2 separate regions of the Homo sapiens genome follow, and region 1 is linked to region 2. The links are contacts of gene promoters, found by promoter capture Hi-C in blood cells and fetal thymus (Javierre and others, 2016). All regions are on one chromosome and are shown on one strand. Each heading gives the region's core, a stretch centred on a gene start or on the middle of the fragment in contact. The rest is flanking DNA. Distances are from core to core; before and after follow the strand shown.

Region 1 (7,076 bases), core at 3,366-5,865, 390 kb after region 2:
TTGTTTTCGTGCCTTCATACTTATCTTTGAGACTGTGGACGTCCCTTACTTAATATGCTCATTATTTATCTTCTGCCCTCATCTCCTTTGCCTATCTCACTCAAAGACGTAGCTCAAGAGGCACATGGTAGGTACTCATTACGTTTTCATTGAATGAATGAATGAACGAATGAATGAACACATCCCTAGACAGAAGTCAGGAGCTGATGAAGATGGATGCATATGGTTCCGATGCTGAGATTTATGGGACTACCTAAGCCTTTCAAACTGTTACCAGTTTATTACTATTAGAGTTACTAAAATATCTTTTGTTTTGCTTTTTCCCTCATGGATACTTCTCAAAGAGATCCAGGGTTCCCTTAATCCTGCATTGTCTACTTGCAGGAATGATTTCCCCCACAGAGCTGCCTGTAATTGTCAAAGCAGCACTAATTGGAGCTTGTTCATGCCCCCTGCCTGAGACAGCAACCACCTTCAATTCAAAGGCTGGCTACCTGGTGAACGCCAATTCAGCACCCAGTCAAAGCCGGTTATACTTGAGTTTTCCTTGCCAGCAGCATGTTTTCCTGTTTAATCCGTGTTAACATTCCAATTCAGGTTCTCCTAACTGGCACACATTCTGTCTGACAAACGTTGTCCTTCCCCCTTCTGTCTTCTTTTCTCTTATAGAAATATTATTTATTTATAACATATTGTAGCAAACAACTATACAGCTGAGAGGGAGGCATACTTCCTCCTAACAATACCCACATATGATATAAGGGTGATTTTTTCACTTGCAAGAGACAGTTTAGGAAAGTGGTGTATATTTGACAGGAATCAGAGATGGAAGGAGTAGGGATGAGGTCCTGGGAAGTCCCTGTCCTCAGGATGTGTGTGCAAAACCCTCTCCTCTCAGAGCCTGCTCAGGGTGCTGCAACTTTTCAAAGCACTCAGCCTGCTTCCTCATGAATGTGACTCTGGTGTATATTTGGAAGTGGAAAATGCTGACCTCTCTGATCTGTTTGATTGGTCCTAGCACCACAGAAAGCATCTTGTGAGGGGAAGGAGGAAGAAGAGCCTTTAATTTTCTTTAATTTGTCATGGTTTTCATTTTCATTTGAATGGTATGTGTCAGAAGACCTGAGTGTGGTGAAATGTCTTGCCCTTGTCATCATGTCCTCTCCACAATCTGCCTCAGGCCCATGAACTGCACCCTGGAGTCGCTCTGGCAGGAAACCGTTCCTTCCTCATGTGCACAGGGACCACTTCCCAGTCCACTCTTGTTAACGTTATAACAAAAGCTTATGTGTGACCACTTTTAAGGGAGGGGACATATTCTTTCAGGACAGTGATTTGTTAGGTATGAAATAAATAATTATTGATCAACTGCTTAACCACCCAAGTAAGACATTTGTAATCTTGCCATTATGTTATGCGATGTCTGGAAAGCCACGCAATCCACTACCAGAGAGAATCCAATCTGACTCTCAGCCAATCACAAACATGCTTGAGGTCCAGAGAATGCTGCAAATAGTATATTTATTGTTCTCCTTGGGATCAGAGAGAGGCCCTGCCATTCTTCCTTCCTCTTTTTTCCTTTTCTCTGTCTCCCACAGTCATTTCCATGTAGTTGTGGCTCTTCCTAGCACAAGTCTATGGGGTGCATTCCTGGCTCTACTGAGAGAAGTGGGTGCTGAGTAGGTAATTACATTCTTTAGTATAAAACATCTGAAAGACAACAGACTCTCCTTTGTGAAGGGCTAAAATAGATAGAGCTCTATGTACCAGGAACTGTGCTAATCACTTAACAAGCATTATCTCATTTAAAGTTCATGAGACCTGTGAGTTGAGTGCTATCATTTCTCTGATGATTTCATAGAGTAGGAAGGTAAGACATTTAGAGTCACACAGGAAGTTGCGCAATGGAGTAGCAGAGAATTCAGAATCTCAACCCAAACTGCCAAATTCTTGAGCTGACATACAGTAAGGTGTAGAGTAGTGTCAAGAGGATTGAGGGAGCTAAGGCCCACAAAGCACTAAAAACACTGCCTGGCACTTGGTGAGACCCAATGCAAAGGGGAATAGAACTAACTGTGAGAAAGGAAAGAAAAGGTGAGTCTTTCCATACGCTTATTATTCAGAGAGTGTATACACAGATGGAAGTTGGGGTAAGTTGCATGGGGAAGCTCTCTTTCTCTCATCAAATATTTATAGAATGACTATTCAGGGCCAGACCCTATGCTAGGTGGACTCAACCTAATTGTTGCCTTCAAAGGAAAGAGAGGAAGAGACCTGTAAAAGGACAAATCCCTAAAGTGTTGTAGGCCTTATTGGAGCCAGACTTACAGAGAAGAGGGAGCAGTTGATTTCTACAGGGGGTGGGGCTTAGGGTCAAGAAGGGTACCATAGGAGTGCCACCAGTCAGAATAAGGACATCCAATTTATAATACCACTGCTGTAACAATGAGGGACACATAAATCAACATTTTTCTGAATTCCATCTGCCAAGCCTGGCAACACCCAAAGCCACTCACAGATGACTGAAGGATATTTCTGGTCTCATTGCCCTTCATCAGTACGATGGGAAGCAGACATTGTTCACCACCGCATCCTTAATGAAGTATAGAGATTAAATCCAAACACACAGTCATATAAAACCCCTTTAGCTTCAATGACTAAATCACCTCTTTTCTTTGTTCTAGAAAGGCCATGTTTGCTATAGATGTTAGGCAGTGAGCTCAGGTTTACATTTCAGTTTTGTTTGTTTTCACAGCCCCCAAGCCCTAATCATTTTCTACCATACCCATACTACCACATTTCTCTGTTGTCATTACACTGAGCTAAATTAATTTACCTCCCTGTCCAAATTGTAAGCCTACAGAGTTAGAATCTACCCAGGAAAATATGACCAAGTAGAGTAAATGCTGGGCCTGCAGGTGGATGACTTGACATCCAGTCTCAGCTCTGACACTCACCTGGGTCACTCTAAGGTGGATTGCTCGTCTGTAAAATGGGTTTTATTCATAGATACAGAGTGAGTTGCTACCCTGGAACTTGGAGAGAAATAAGATGGGCTTTGAAAACTTCAACTAGTCAAACAGTAGATGTGACACATATCTGTGGGAGTAAACCAAGAGATTATCTGTGCCTTATAGCTTTAGAAACACCCCAAATTCTAGTCAGGGTGATCTAGGAGCAAACCCAGGGATGGCAAACTTGAACATAATTAGGATTTAGTCAGTAGAAAAAAAATCAATAGTATTGAATCCTCTTTGGAGAAAGGTTTTGTGAACTGATAATCTAGGACTGGCATCTCAAGGGGTCAGCAAACAATGGCCTGTGGGCCAAGTCCAGCTTGCTGCCTGTTTCTGTAAATAAGGTTTCATTGGAACATTTGTTTACATATTGTCTAAGCCTGTTTCTGTGCTACAATGATGGAGTTCTGTAGCTATGACAGAATCATGTGGTCTACATTTCCTAAGTATTTACTCTCTAGCCCTTTGGAGAAAACGTTTGCTAGCCCCAGTCAGTCTTTGATCTCTCAGTGTTTGATCTCCTCTGGCTCCTCTCCAGAATAAACCATACTCCCAACAGTTTTCACATTGGGGCAGGGGGGTCTTGGTGCTTATCAGAGTCTCCATGTGTGGTGCTTAATTATAAATACCCCCTAGTATGTGGTTATACTGATGGAAATGCCGAAGTTTCCAAGTTTGGAAATTTCTTCTTAGATTTGTCTAGGACAAGATGCCTGGTAAGTCCAAACAAAGAAGTTAGTGTTCCTGACAGCCACGTTCCCACCTTGGAGATGAATGCATGAAGCTATCGAAGCTTAACACCATTTAATATTCAAATGTATAATTCCCCTTGTTCAGTTCCACACCCCTCAAGCAATCTTCTGATAATTTGACTTCCCATGTAGAGTGCCCCCCAGAGAGCAGGCCAAGTTGACATATGTCTGTCTGCCAGTAGCTTTTCTAATTACAGATGACTAAATTGGTGATCTAGCTAATATATATCAGTCTCTGTGAACTTGGTTTGTGTCCCAATCCCTGAGGGGCAAATGACAGAGACACTCTTAATGTACTGACATATTATTCTGTGTTCCGAACCCACAAGATTGTCTTGAGAATATATGAGAAGTGAACATGGACCCAACTTGTTAAACCATAAAGACCCCACTGTGCTCCCTTAATTTCTAGAATGTGCACATTTGACAAAAGCTGAGGGCAGGGGTCAAAGAAACATTTAGCCTGTTCTCTGTTGAAGAGACTTTGCTAATAATAAAAATACTGTCAGTGTGGTTCATTAACAGTTTTTAATTGAGGTGACCTGTAGAAACTTACCAGCCAGTTTAAGTTCTAGTTCTGGCTTAAATGTCTCTTAAATCTACTTTCCCCATTACCCTTGGCTCTCCTTTCCTGAGAGAAGCCTTCACCTTCTTTCACCTGGACCTAAAACGACAACAGCCTTCAGTCTAATCATTCCAAACGCTTCCTCAACCCTCAGGTGCTAGAGTGACTTACCCTCAAACACAAAGCTCAGCATGCTGGCTTCATTAAAATTTTTTTTAGCAATGTAGCATTCAAACTCCTCCACATCCTGGCCCCACCTTACCAGTCACATGAGCCATGATCCAGCTACACTCCACTGCGTGCAAGTTCCACAACAGACTATTCCCTTCCACGTGCCTCTGCTGTGGCGAGATGCTAGTTGCCCCCGTAACTTGTTTTTCCTGTTTTTTTCATGGGTACAGAACCACCTTATTACAAGCATATTTCCCTGCCCCCCTTGAGGCTAGATGTGGTCATGTCAAAGTCAATGAAATATAAAGAAGTGTGCAATTTCTGCCTTCCTTACTATAATAAAGTAACTTACCCTGGACCACTTCTCCCTATTCTTCACACGGCTGGAAATGGCAAGCCAGCTGATGCTCCAGCAGTGTGAAAAATGCCTAGAGGATGGTGGAGCAACAAGTTGGAAGGACCATGGTCCCTGAATGACCTCATGGAGTAGGGCAGCCCCACCAGACTGCCTACCTTTAGACTATTATATGAGAGGAAAATGGACATCTATCTTTTCAAGTTACTGTACTGCAGATCTCTTTCTCACAGCAGCTTAGCTTTTACTGGAACAGACTTGCCTTCACATATTCTAATTCTTCAGGCTGCCCCATCCCTGTTCACTTGATGAGTTCCAATTTACATTGTTGTGAAGTACCACAATGCCCTCAGGACCAAGCGGAATGAATCCCCCTTTGCCTGTGCGCTCCATAGGACATTTACTTGATTGCATTGCCAGTGCCATACTGCTGTAATACGATTTTTGGCTTGCCGGATCCATGAGCAAGGTAAGCACCATTTTAAAATTTGTCTCTGAATCTCCAGGCCAAAGTCTAGCACATAGTAGGAGATCAGCATGTTTTCAAAGGTAAATAAATAAAAGCTTATCCCCTCACCTAGCTTAGCAGTAAGAAGCATCTGAAGAGTTAAGAAGTAGAACACAGAAAATTAGAAGAAAGAGATAAATGAAAGGGAAGAAACAGTGAGGCATAAGCCATGCCCTCTAGGTCTGCTGCAGCCTCAGCAGCACCCAGCTCTCTGTAGGAACTCAATAACCACAGATCGATTGAGCTCAACCTTTGCTTGTCATTACTGCTTCCTTCTGCCAGACCCCAAGGAAGCTTCTATAGAAAGTCGGTCCAGAGACTAAAAGAATAGTGAGGGGTGGTGTGTCAGATCAGCTGTTAATTAACAAATCATTCAAATCATGGAGTAAACAAATCTACATTAGAAGTATGCACAAGTTTCAGTGTATGGCTTTATTTTATATATTTTGGTTTATAAAATGTCTCATGATTATAGAATAGCTGTTAACTTAAAACCCACTTCTTTATTTCATCAGATTTTCAAACTGAAACTTTTAAAAGTGATTGATTCTCTGACTGATCCCATTTCTTTCCTATAGCCATGTCTATTCATGGTACTTTGGAAACACAGCACATGTTGCTTATGGAAACACACACTAAGATGAGAGCTAGGAAACTCAGTGGCCTTTAATTATTCAGGATTTAATCGTGCAAGCATGTACAATCAATATTTGTTGATCTTAATCTGATTACCTCCTAGTCGTGTTCAGCGTCTCCATCAACAGGATAACAATATGACACATTTCATAGACTTTCCCTAGGTTCTTCCAACAAGCTTATTGGAAGGATTTTAATCAGCTAATGAACTCGTCAATGGTATTTTCAGGAGCCAAGGCACCTTCCTGCACCTATATCCCATGACCATATTTGCCTGACATCTTGTGGCCACAAGGAGCATGACAGTCTATAAACCCAACATCTGTACACAGGGCAAGCAGCGTCTTTGAATGCTAATCCCTGCATCACAGTCAGAGCGAGTATAAAACTGCTTAAGAGATGTGTGACATGTAATTATTTCATCTAATTAAAATGGAAGCTAGGCTTTTCTTTTTATATTTATGAGGCAAGTTGGAACATGTGGGTCAATTCTTCTAAGGAAAGGAATGGGGTCTCTATCTGGGCTGAACATCTGGCTTGTTATCAACTACCTTGGCCACAGAACACTTTTCCTGTGAAAGGCCCACAAAAAACAGAATATGGCTCACTGGACTGAGAGAAGTAAGAGCATCTGTGGTCAGCTCCTCTGAGAGAGAGAGAGAGAGAGGATTTCGAGCTGGGATTGTTGGAACAAAGAACGCAGAATCCTCCGAGTAAAGAGACTGAAAAAAGGTTTCATCTTCAACACCACAATGGTATATTTTGCGTCTCATAAACTTGACTTTTTAGCACTAGAAACATTTTGTTTAAAGCCAAATTTAGGGTGGCATTATATAAATATAGAATAGAACAATAAAGGTGCTTTGATTGAAGCAGGGAGTCTGAGCGCCACTGGTTTAGCTTTTCTCTCCCACCCCCGCCACCACCCCAGACACATCCTCCAAACCCACACCTTTGAGGGCACAGTCTGACAACTGTTGAAAATATGGAAATTGTATTATATGTGAAATCAGAAGTCTTAGCTTTGTATCTCAACTCTACTCTTTAGTACCTGAGCATCATATAACAAGTC
Region 2 (6,504 bases), core at 280-2,779:
TTGCCTATTGCTTGCTCCCCCTTATATATATAGAAAAAAAAGGCCGATTTCTGTTTGGTTTTGAGAGGTTTGCAGATTTCTGAGATCAGAGCGTTTTCCCTGTTGCAATAGTCTTTCTTTCTAATGGAAGTCTCCCTATCTTATCTAAATTCGGATTTGTTTCTGTTTGACGTTAATGTGTAGCTAAGAGTGATCCCAGGTGAGTCTGAGCCCGCCTTGGTGGGGAATGAAGCCTGGAGCATCGGAGCATTTGTCTTTCTCTTAGAAAAGGCAAGGAAGCCTGAAATGCGCAGCTCTCCCTTGAACTTCAACTTTTTAAAGGGGAATGAATTTCTAAAGGAGGAGTTTCCAGTCTAGGGCTGTAGGGGCCTCCGGGCAAAGGAAGTGCTTGTTGAAAAACAACATTGTGATCACTTCCAGCGGCGAAGGGTGTGCTTGGGAACGGTTTGGGGAGGGGACAGAAGAGAGAGGGGTGGGATGGACGGCGGCAGAAGTGGGAGGTACACGAGGAGTTACTGGAAACGGCGCTTCTGTGGAGGAGCCGGGGGGGATGGGGAGTAGAGGGAGGGGGCCCTGTTGCCTCAGCGCCCCGAGGTCGTGGAGCGGCAGCAGCTGCAGCCGGAGCAGCACCAGCAACAGCAACAGCGAGCGGGACGGAGTTAGGACCGCTCGGAGCGCACAGGTCTCGAGGTAGTATAAGGTTTGCTATCCTTCCACTTGCTGGCAGTTGCAGAAGAAGATCTGCTTTTTAAGTGAAACGTACATGCCACCCCTCCGAGGGCTGCGGCTTCCCCGGGCTTGCTTCTTTGCCGCTCCTCTTTCCGGCTCTCGCGCTCACTCTTTAATTGGCACTGGCCCCTAAGTTTGCCAGGAGCTCGCTGCCCGCTCGGAGCAGGGTCCCGGCCGGGAGCCGCTGGTGGGGGCGGGGAGTCCGGGAGCCGCAATCCAGAAGCGTCGTGGGCCATGTATATTTCATCAAACGGACTTTGGGTGCGTCGCGTCTCACTGCCATCAGTGCTATGTGCAGTGACATTTCTGACTTGAGTGGAGGAATGCGCGAAGGAAACCCGGGCGAAATTGGTATTAGAGGATCTTCTTGGCGCCAATGCTAATTGTCCTGATTTATGCCCCTTCTGACTAAGCTCAACGTCTTCATCTGAAATAAAATGAAAGCGGTGCCAAGCGGCATAGAACCGCCTGGCCGCTGGTTCTGATCCCCGGGAACCAGAAAATCGTCCTGCGGCTTGAAAAAAAAAAAAAGAGGAAAAAAAAAAGAAATAGAAATAGAAAAAAGAAAAAATATCCCTCAGTAAAAGTTTAAGGCGAGAAGTGTCAGAGGCAGCGGAGCGAGGAGGCGCGGAGGAGAGCCGGCGAGCAGGGGACTGGGCTGGCACGACCTCCGAAGGCTGAGATCTCATTATTAATATCACTATATTTTTGGAGGGAGAGGCACCTTTCTCATCCTCTCTTCCTCTCCGCCCACCCTTACTCCCTCCCCCTCATCTACCTGTCAAAGTCACTGATCTTTTGCATTTCGGAAGAGGACGTCAACGGGAAGGAATTCCCCCTCTGGGTGCGGGCTCCGAGAGGGGGCGACTTGCAGGAGGCTCCCCCCGGGGGCGGAGGCGAAGGTAATTAAGCGGCGGGGAGTGGCGGGCCGGCGCTGGGTTCTCGGTCCTCGGGGTCCTCTCCCGCCGGCGGCCGGGCGCGATCGGAATCCCCGGGCTGCGGCGGTGGCGGCGGCTCGGGTCCTCACGCCCACCCCTCCCGCTCCGCCCGCTCCCGCCTGGGGAGGAGGCTCCGCGGGAGCTGCCGCCCTCCGCCCGTACGCCGCCCGCGGGCTCCGCTGCTGCGGCCGCCGCCCGAGGCGGACCAGGCTGGCTGCGCAGGGCCGCCGCCCCGCGCCGTCGGCTCGGCTCCCGCCCGGCGCAAGGGCAAACGAGCCACACGGTAAGTGCCTGCGGCTCGCCTCTCCTACTGCGACCCGAGCCTCTCGCCCGTGCCCCTCTCCCCCGGGTTTCCCCACCCCCCGCCGCCCCCCGCCCCACCCGCTGCGATGCACAGGCGGGAGGGAAGGCTCCGGGTGGGCGAGGAACTTTGTAAAGCGCCCCGAGGAGGCAGCGCGCGGAGCCCTACGCGCACACACAGCGGCACACGCTCACACCCACACACAAGTCTTCCCGGGGGTGCGCCCCGGGCCGGTGATGCGTCCTCTTGTTGTGTCCGGAGCCCAGGCGTGGGGTCTGAGCCTCCATCCGCCGACTGACAGGGGCCCCGCGCTCTCCCTCTCTCACGCACACCTGGCCACACACATCGCTCAGGCGGCTTGTCGTTATTTTTTCTTTCTTTCGCCAATTATATTTGTTTGGGGAAAAGCAAACAAAAAAAACAAAAAAACACTTGCCCTATTGCCGGCCTTGGGGATCTGGTGGCCACATCGAGAGCTTTTGAAGTCCCTTCTTTTAATCGCCTTTATTGGTGCTAGATTAAAACATTACTATCCCATGTTGTGCAGCTGGGGAGAAAGGGAAATTGAAAGAGGAAGACTTGGTGTAGGGATGCTGTTTGGAATATTCTCTCATATTCTTTACTGGCATCATATTAATCGGTTGATGGATTCGGCTAGGGACACTGAATTGCACTCCTGTATGGATCTGTGGATATCTATATATAATACAAATAATACTGAATATTATTGGGCCTAAAATAACCAATTAAGTGATTCATACAAGGAAAAACTTAGATATAAAAAGAAACTGCGCCCTCTGCTGTTAATTTTAGTACCCTCACCCGGGGACTTTTTTTTTTTTTCCTTCAGAAATCCACTTAAGAGTAGGCTGTCATCTTACAGGGCAAGGGAAGAAAATTCCTAGCGGGGATTTTAAAGCAACTTTACTTGGAAAAGTCGCAGGTTGAGCTCCTATAGTTGCATCAGGTACAGATTTCCAGTGAGTAGACGGTCCTCCTCTCTCACCCATTCTTCTCTTTATACAGGGAATAATGGAGCCACTCCTCATAACAAATTGTCAATCTTTGGAATGGAAAATTCTGAGTAAGATTCAGAACTCCACTAAACATATGGTGAATCTGGCAGTAGAATTGCTCTAGAAATAAGGCCCTGTTTTATGACTGAAAATACTAAAAGTTGTTTTATCTTACAGAAATGAAAAAAAAAAAAACCCAGGAAGATCTTCCATTAAAATCACTTATTCAGATATGCTTAGTAGTTAAGCTTGTTGGAAAGTTTTCCAAAAAATAATTTTTTTTTTTTTCAGGGGAGGCTTTTCTGTTTTGTTTGTCCCTTGAGGAGGATCTCTAGTGAGGGAATTAGCAATTCCACATTTCATTAAGTATTTTGAACTGTGTCACTTTGAATGCCTTACCCGCCTCCCTTTCTCTTTGGCAAAGGAAAAGCAGCTCAGTAACTGTCCAAGATTCTTTTTGAAGATAAGCAACTTTCGATTTTTCATTAAGATAAAATTTGGATCTCTGCATGTGGATCAACATGCAAGGAAAAATGTGCATCAAGTATTTCACATGTAATGTTGTTCCAGGGATATATTTTCTTTTCTGGATGCCGTGAAATGAGATATATTTCACCCACTGAAGACCACCATGAAGGCATTCAGGATTCTATATACTGCACTACTAATTTGGTGGTATTTCCTTACTGTGGAATTTAAGACGGATAATCTTAAAACTTTTGCATGGAAACAGTTTATTTGAACATAAAGCTGGTTTCCTGTTAATATTTTTGTTTTGTCAGTTTTCAATGGGTATATGTGTTAAAATGATTCAGGTTAGCCTTTTTAGGAGGAGGCAAATGTATTTTGCAGTTTCCTTTTGTATATTTGCAAGTGGTGCAAATACCTATTTTTGCTTCCATTATTATTCTGAAAAATATTCAGGTAATTTGTTTAAAAAGTTAAACCATTACACATTTATTTGATAGGATTTCTAAGTGTCATAAAAATTTGGAGAGTTTTAGTTACAAAGGCATCAAGTCACTTGGAAAAAAGAAAATTGGATTCAACTTTGAAAACCAATTATATGTTAACATTGAAATATATGTGTGTGAATTATATTGTATAGGAGATTATATTAGTAAAGTCTTAGGTTAGTATGAGATTTAGCATACTTTAAAAAATAATTTTATTTGCAGAATCCAAAGTTCTGTTTCAAAACTTCAGGTAGGTGTAGATTTTCTCATATATGCGTTTGAGACCTTAGATCTCTGAACTTCCCTGCATGAGAATTAAATATTTGTTTTTCATGTGGTAATTAAATTCCAGATTTCTTCTAGGCTTAACTGATTCTGAAATAGTTTTGGGTATTATCCCATCCTCAATCATCCTGCAAAACATGTGCTATCTAATTTCTTGAATCAGTCTTCTCTCAATGAAAATAGAGATCTTTCAATTACCACGGTGTGTTATTTGGGTTTATTAAGAATCTCATGATAGACAGTTGCTCATAATACCCAATCAAGTGTGAGTAAGCTATGCCAATGATGTTGCAGTACATATTAAATTCCTTATATTTTGAGAGACAGTTAACAAAAGGATAGAAGCATATGTTTTCCATTAAGTTGACTAGAAAATGCTTTCTTCAGAACAAATAGCTGCAAAGAGCATTGAATACATGTTAAAATATCTTATGTAATAAATTTCATTATGACTGTTGGAAGCTGCTAATTTTGATAGGTTATAATTTTGTATATCTTTATCTTTTTATATTTTCACTCAATGATCTATATAGTCAATTTTCCTTTTGTTCCTTCCCATTCAGAAACATGCATATTTATAAAATTCTTAATGTGAATGAGGAATGAGTCAATAGTTGTGTATTTCAGGTACCCCTGAAAAGCTGAATATTTATGAAAAAAATAGCTTACTACCACCATTCCCACCTGCTAGTGAGATTATATAATAAAATGAATGCTGAAAACCAGCTAGATTAGGAGATTTACTGATAATGTCTTCCTCTCAGTTGATGAAACTGGCAATTGCTTTTGGAATATAATTGCCTGTAATATTAACCATTATTACTTCCATGTAATATTTTGGGAGGCTTTTTTTTTCTGGTGAAAGAAAGGGCCTGTGAAAATGGCTTCTGCAAAATTAATCCAAGGTGGAAGGGAATTAGCTGCAGAATCCTGGACAAATACATGTTTTGTGTGTGCAAAGGCATTTTATAGCCCATTTTAGTCCTGATCAATAATCTCTATCAACTTGAGGGCCATGACTTAATTTTACCTTTTATTATTGGTTCTGCAAATTTATACACCGGAGGTCTATGGGGTACTCACAACCTATTAATGGGTATTTTTATCAAAGGAGACTTCTCAGTACTTTAGTTCCCAAGTAGAGGTGGTAGCATTTTTGATTACAGTGAGTTCCCAAGGTCTGCAAAGTGAAGAGGTAGAACTGGAGCTGCCCAGAGCTCTTATGAATCTGTTCTTATTTAGGTGATACGGACACCTGAGACAAATTTAAAGGCCACGTCACTTCACAATTAGTTCAGTTATGGGCCAGAAGGGATAGGTTTAGTATATTAAGTCCCCAAATATGTTATTCACTGTCCTTCTCATAATTGGTTTCCCTAGCTATTTGCTGTGATGACCTAGCTTTTAAGAAGCTATTGATAATTTTAACCTGTTTGAAAGCACAGCAGATAGACACAGTGCCATTAAATAGTGGAGGTTAAGTTGTAAATAATATTCTATTTTTACATCATTGTATTTTCTTTGAAAACTCTGTAATTATACTTTAATAACAAATTCCTGATTTTCAGAGGCTGCTTTTCCATTGTGTGTCATGGAAGTTCATAGATTTAATTTCTTACTAATTTGAAGTTAAGAGGATTTCCTTTGAAGTATATGTGACACTGAAAAGTAAGAAGACCCTGAAATGCAGGATACATAACAATAGTACAAATATAAAAATTAGAATGAAATCAAATAATTATGTTAAATAACAGCTTAGTGTCCCTCTGCTCCTGATCTGTAATACGCCGTGGTCAATATCTTTTTCTGTGTCAATGGGAGCTCATTAAATGTAAACTCTGCAGACTAACTGAGCCATGCCATATTAGTGCTTGCCAAAGCTTGACATTTTTAATACATTAATAATATGTCTGTAATGTAATGGAAAACTATTAATCACAACTGGTTATGTGCCAGAAATTTAAGCTATAATTGGCTGCCTCTTGTCAAGAATGTCTGTTGCACAGTCCTGCAACTGCCTAATATTCAAATATCTTGCACTCTTCTGCATTTTTCCTTGTCAGTTCTCTAAATTCGATCAATGGTGTAGTCCATAATTCTGTGTAATGACCATCATTATAATCCTGGTATACTTTAATGAGAATTCGTTATATTGGGATTGCTGTTGTGTCAGGAGATAGCAAAGGGTTCACATATATTTCCTTAGTGTTCAAATTTTTCCTGTACAAATGTATGGTCACCCTTTATTTTGTGGTTGCAGTAATGCAAAATGTGGTTGA

What was found. Contacts are between HindIII fragments. The CHiCAGO score rates a contact against its expected background, and 5 or more counts as called.
Region 1: a contact is called between a fragment that was not itself captured here and the fragment with the promoter of NTNG1 in region 2, in 1 of 17 cell types (naive B cells). The highest score is 5.6, in naive B cells.

The regions. Positions count from the first base shown.
Region 1 is chr1:107,523,453-107,530,528 of GRCh38, forward strand. No RefSeq gene overlaps it. Among named protein-coding and RNA genes, the nearest start is that of MIR7852, 370 kb to the right of the region's middle. The HindIII fragment of the contact is 1,614 bases long and covers 3,809-5,422 here.
Region 2 is chr1:107,139,510-107,146,013 of GRCh38, forward strand. NTNG1 (netrin G1) reads left to right here and starts at 1,530. Exons shown (of 8, transcript NM_001113226.3): 1 at 1,530-1,631. RefSeq lists an enhancer at 1,170-1,701 and silencers at 1,635-1,924, 1,945-2,224. The HindIII fragment of the contact is 6,022 bases long and covers 1-3,230 here.